Linked DNA regions of Homo sapiens: region 2 is linked to region 1. Evidence: promoter capture Hi-C in 16 types of primary human blood cells and fetal thymus (Javierre and others, 2016). All regions are on one chromosome and are shown on one strand. The core of a region is centred on a gene start or on the middle of the fragment in contact, and the rest is flanking DNA. Distances in the headings are between cores, read along the strand shown.

Region 1 (2,817 bases), core at 171-2,670:
TATAGTGGCCTGATATTGGAATGTTCAAAGCCTTCTGCTTAAGAGTTTGTGTGCGGCCGGGCGCGGTGGCTCACACCTGTAATCCCAGCACTTTGGGAGGCCGAGGTGGGCGGATCAGGAGGTCAGGAGATCCGAGACCATCCTGGCTAACACGGTGAAACTCCGTCTCTGCTAAAAATACAAAAAATTAGCCGGGCGTGCTGCATGCGCTAGTAGTCCCAGCTACTCGGGGCTGAGGCAGGAGAATCGCTTGAACCTGGAAGGCAGAGGTTGCAGTGAGCCGAGATCGCGCCACTGCGCTCCAGCCTGGGCGACAGAGCGAGAATCCGCCTCAAAAAAAAAAAAAAAAAAAAAAAAAGAGATTGTGTGTGTTGGGGAGCAGGGCATGTGGACACAAGGTCTCCGCCCTAGGAGAAGTGCTGGAGAGTAGGACAAGTACCACTACTTCGGACGGGGAGGGCGATGCCTCCAATGGGGGGCTTCCCTGATTCCTGCAGATCATACGTTGGCCCCCAACTTCACACTGGCCAGAATCCCGGTTCTAGTCTTTTCCGTGCCACCAACCCCTGGGCCCTCTTTCTAGAAGGAAAGAAAACACCTTTGGCCTCTGCCCAGAGCTACAGACACCTGAAGTAGGAGCAGGCAGGAGATGCGTGGTGGATAAAGACCAGAGAGACTTGGGATCGAATTCCACTCTCACCCCCAGTTCAGTTTTCTTCAGCTTGCTGCTCCACAGGCAGGATGTGAAAATTTAGATGCCTCACCCCTCGCACCTCCAGCTTGCTGCTCCAAATAGGCAGGATGTGAAAATGTAGATGCTTCCCCCCCAACCTCTATAAAACAGGGCCGACGAGGATGGGATTCGAACCCACGCGTGCAAAGCACAATGGATTAGCAGTCCATCGCCTTAACCACTCGGCCACCTCGTCCTACGTGACAGGTTTGTCCACATTCACTTATCTCTCATCTACTCCGCACCTTCCAAGCACTACCACGTAAGTCGCAACGCAGACCTCTTCGGACACAGGGAAAGAAGAAGCCGCGGAAGGAAGGGAGCGTTTTGATTTCCTTTCTGCTGAGCCCGCGCCATCCTTTACCACGCTGCAGCCGAGCTCTGCCGCGGTTTCCCTCCGAGTCCGGCCGAGCGCGCCGCGCGTTCAGGGCGCGCCCGGTCCAGGGTGCGCGCGCCGGCGGGGAGGGAGAGGAGTGCGTCCCGGGAAGCCGGCGGGGCCCGGGCGGGCGGGCGTCTGCACGGCGCGCGGCCGAGCGGCGGGGCCGTGGCTCCTCCTCCCTCGTAGGGGGCGAGCCGGCGCGCCGGGGGCTGGGGGCGGTGGCGGGCGGCGGGCGGCGGGCGGCGGGCGGCGGGCGGGGCGGCGCTCGGGGCTCGGCTGGCCTCGGCTCGCCTCGGCTGCGCTCGGCAGGCTGCGGTAAATCCGGGCTTGCGGCCGCTGGCGTAGTCTGTGGCCGGGTGGTCGTTGCTGCGCGCCCCGAGCCCCGAGAGCCATGCAGATGTCCTACGCCATCCGGTGCGCCTTCTACCAGCTGCTGCTGGCCGCGCTCATGCTGGTGGCGATGCTGCAGCTGCTCTACCTGTCGCTGCTGTCCGGACTGCACGGGCAGGAGGAGCAAGACCAATATTTTGAGTTCTTTCCCCCGTCCCCACGGTCCGTGGACCAGGTCAAGGCGCAGCTCCGCACCGCGCTGGCCTCTGGAGGCGTCCTGGACGCTAGCGGCGATTACCGCGTCTACAGGGGCCTGCTGAAGACCACCATGGACCCCAACGATGTGATCCTGGCCACGCACGCCAGCGTGGACAACCTGCTGCACCTGTCGGGTCTGCTGGAGCGCTGGGAGGGCCCGCTGTCCGTGTCGGTGTTCGCGGCCACCAAGGAGGAGGCGCAGCTGGCCACGGTGCTGGCCTACGCGCTGAGCAGCCACTGCCCCGACATGCGCGCCAGGGTCGCCATGCACCTCGTGTGCCCCTCGCGTTACGAGGCAGCCGTGCCCGACCCCCGGGAGCCGGGGGAGTTTGCCCTGCTGCGGTCCTGCCAGGAGGTCTTTGACAAGCTAGCCAGGGTGGCCCAGCCCGGGATTAATTATGCGCTGGGCACCAATGTCTCCTACCCCAATAACCTGCTGAGGAATCTGGCTCGTGAGGGGGCCAACTATGCCCTGGTGATCGATGTGGACATGGTGCCCAGCGAGGGGCTGTGGAGAGGCCTGCGGGAAATGCTGGATCAGAGCAACCAGTGGGGAGGCACCGCGCTGGTGGTGCCTGCCTTCGAAATCCGAAGAGCCCGCCGCATGCCCATGAACAAAAACGAGCTGGTGCAGCTCTACCAGGTTGGCGAGGTGCGGCCCTTCTATTATGGGTTGTGCACCCCCTGCCAGGCACCCACCAACTATTCCCGCTGGGTCAACCTGCCGGAAGAGAGCTTGCTGCGGCCCGCCTACGTGGTACCTTGGCAGGACCCCTGGGAGCCATTCTACGTGGCAGGAGGCAAGGTGCCCACCTTCGACGAGCGCTTTCGGCAGTACGGCTTCAACCGAATCAGCCAGGTGCTCATAAGGGAGAGGGCAGGGGTAATGGGGCAGGAGGGGTGGTGGGATCAGGGAGTTATGAGGAGTGGCCCTGGATGGAAAGGAGGCAATGAAGCAGGAGGGATCATAGTTCAGGAGGTGGGTGGATGGTGTGGAAGATCCAGGATACTTCCAGAGGGGTGAGGACGCTGGACTGTGGCTTTAGGGAAGTCAGTCTCAGGCCTGTCAATGTCATCAAACTTTGCTAACCTGTCTTTCCTCCTGCAGGCCTGCGAG
Region 2 (2,940 bases), core at 19-2,518, 450 kb before region 1:
TCATGCCTGTAATCCCAGCACTTTGGGAGGCTGAGGTGGGTGGATCACTTGAGGTCAGGAGTTCAAGACCAACCTGGCCAACATGGTGAAACTCCATCTCTACTAAAGATACAATAGCTGTGCATGATGGTGCACACCTGTAATCCCAGCTATTCAGGAGGCTGAGGCAGGAGAATCGCTTGAACCTGGGAAGCGGAGGTTGCAGTGAGCTGATATTGCGCCACTGCACTCCAGCCTGAGCAACAGAGCGAGACTTTGTCTCGAAAAATAATTACTATTATTTTATTTTATTAGAGATGGGGTCTCACTATGTTTATTAGGCTGGTCTCAAACTCCTGGCCTCAAGCAATCTTTCTGCCTTGGCCTCCCAAAGTGCTGGGACTACAGGTGTGAGATATCATGACCAGCCTGTTTCTTATTCTCAAGTATACTTCCTCCACTAAAATTAATCTTTGGTTCTGAGCAAATTTCCAAATTCATTCAAAGGTCAGCATTGTGTGAGGGGGCCCATGAATCACAAATGGCCTAAAACTGGCCCCATGATACTTATAAGTCTGCTCTCACGCATGCTACACCTTCCGCTGAAGAGGTCTGAGGTTGCTGTTTGATAGTAACAATGAGAAAAAACCAGGCCATCTTTCTCTCCTAGAAAGAATCTAGTAAAATTTTGTTACTTTCCAATAGCTCTTTTCTAAACAGAGAGAAAACAGTCAACCTGAGAAAGCTGATTAAGAATGAATGAATTAATTAATAGAGAGGAAATATTAATGAACCTTTCCCTTTGTCTCTAATCAGGTCATCCAAGGAAACACATCTACAAAAATTGGCTCAAAGGCTTAAACTTGTGTCAGTACAACTATGATGATGAGCTGCTACCTGTAAGGATTGTTTATTATTAGAGGATCACTAAAGAAAGATATGGGGTGGGGAAATTATTACCTGCATATTAAATGACAAAAATATTCTCATCTGAGGTGTAATTTTGGGTGAGAATAAGAAAACAGACTAAGAACCACAGGCAGTCTCTTTAAGCCTTAAGAGACTTTGACTACTAGTGTTGCCTCTGGGCACATAAATAGAGGCAGAAACTAATGAATAAAGACTAAATTAGGGCTGGACACATTGGCTCACATCTGTAATCCCAGCTCTTTGAAAGGCCGAGGCAGGAGGATTGCTTGAGTCCAGGAGTTTGACACCAGCCTAGGCAACAACCTCATCTCTACAAAAAAAAATTTTTTTTAAATTAGCAGTATATGGGCTGGGCGCAGTGGCTCATGCCTGTAATCTCAGCACTTTGGGAGACCGAGGCAGGAGGATCACGAGGTCAGGAGATTGAGACCATCCTGGCCAACATGGTGAAACCCCATTTCTACTAAAAATACAAAAAAATTAGCTGGGCGTGGTGGCATGCACCTATAGTCCCAGCTACTCAGGAGATTGAGGCAGGAGAATCGCTTGAACCAGGGAGGTGGAGGTTGCAGTGAGGTGAGATCTGCACTCCAGCCTGGGCGAAAGAGCGAGACTCCGTCTCAAAAAAAAAAAAAATTAGCAGCGTATGGTAGCATATTTCTGTGGTCCTAGCTACTAGCTACTCGAGAGGCTGAGGTGGGAAAATGACTTGAGCCCAGGAGACCAAGGCTGCAGTGAGCTATGATGGCATCTGGGTTGAACAGACTGAGACCCTGTCTCAAAAAAAGAAAAAATAAATTAATTGGACTTAAGCATATGTTAGGTCTTTTCTTGACATAATTCATTTTCACTTTGGATTCTGTGGTAGTTAAATGGCACAGGAAGGCAAGACAGAAGGGCTCTGTGTGTTCCATATTGTTTACCACCTCCTCCATGGATTTTTTACATTTTTTATTTATTTATTTTTTTTGAGACAGAGTCTTGCTCTGTCGCTGGAGTGCAGTGGCGTGATCTCGGCTCACTGCAACCTCCACCTCCTGGGTTCAAGTGATTCTCATGCTTTGGCCTCCCAAGTAGCTGGGATTACAGGCATGTGCTACCATGCCCAGCTAATTTTTGTATTTTTAGCAGAGACAGGGTTTTGCCATGTTGGCCAGGCTGGTCTCAAACTCTTAACCTCAAGTGATCCATCAACTTCAGCCTCCCAAAGTGCTGGGATTATAGGCATGAGCCACTGCGCCTGGCCAGATTTACTTTCTTGGAGTCTGAAGAAGATGGAGATGGGCAGAGAGATGATTTCCAAACCTATGCAAAATGCTGATGCACAGAAAATAATGTACACTGAATTCCTTTGTATTCATACTATCTCTCTAGCCAAGAATTCAAGTAAAGTTTTAAATTCATAGTCTTCTCTTCTCATGCCTAAATGGGATTGGAACTAGCAGGGTCTGTGTAAAATAAGGCCTGAAGAGAAGAAGGCACATGTCTTCAGGTCATTTAGAATAGATTCAAATACATAAATAACTTAAAATAGCAGTTTTCAACATAAAAAAAAGTTTTACTTCTGCTTTTCTTATAGAGAAGCTGACACCTGGCACTTACAAATGACAAGTGAGACAATTTCCAATTTCTACCCACATTCGTACTCGAGAGGAGAGTAAAACATGCAGAGGGACAACAAGGCTTTACGCCTTCACCTCACATAATGCTGGGAGTCGACCAAAAGAGCAATTCCATTCCCAAGGTTCAAAGTGGGTTCATTCTCCACCCTGCAAAGCAAAGCAAAGCTAAGCCATCTCTCAAAGATTCTAAAATCAATCTCTGTTTGACATAAATTTTGGCCCATGACTACTACCACCCCAGCGATTACTAGAATTCAGTAACTAATTAACCAAGGGGAAAATGGCAATCTTTAAGTTTACCCCCTCTAGAGACAGGGATGAATCTACTAAAATAATAAAATGTGGGGGTGTCAGAAAATTAGTTTCAAGGTGACTTTGGGTCAAGATATCAAACTGTGAACCTTTTGGA

Evidence for each region. The method cuts DNA at HindIII sites, captures the fragments that hold promoters and counts their contacts. A CHiCAGO score of 5 or more calls a contact.
Region 2: a contact is called between a fragment that was not itself captured here and the fragment with the promoter of B4GAT1 in region 1, in 1 of 17 cell types (M2 macrophages). The highest score is 5.0, in M2 macrophages.

What each region holds. Positions count from the first base shown.
Region 1 is chr11:66,346,232-66,349,048 of GRCh38, reverse strand. It overlaps B4GAT1 (beta-1,4-glucuronyltransferase 1), which reads left to right and starts at 1,420. Exons shown (of 2, transcript NM_006876.3): 1 at 1,420-2,559; 2 at 2,809-2,817. The coding sequence starts at 1,504. It overlaps B4GAT1-DT (B4GAT1 divergent transcript), which reads right to left and starts at 1,058. Exons shown (of 2, transcript NR_135761.1): 1 at 979-1,058. TRS-GCT3-1 (tRNA-Ser (anticodon GCT) 3-1) reads right to left here and starts at 929; the gene lies at 848-929. RefSeq lists an enhancer at 260-760 and a silencer at 787-1,376. The HindIII fragment of the contact is 12,978 bases long and covers 1-2,817 here.
Region 2 is chr11:66,800,769-66,803,708 of GRCh38, reverse strand. It overlaps TOP6BL (TOP6B like initiator of meiotic double strand breaks), which reads right to left. Exons shown (of 15, transcript NM_001302084.2): 6 at 2,607-2,678. Among named protein-coding and RNA genes, the nearest start is that of RCE1, 41 kb to the left of the region's middle. The HindIII fragment of the contact is 3,787 bases long and covers 1-2,940 here.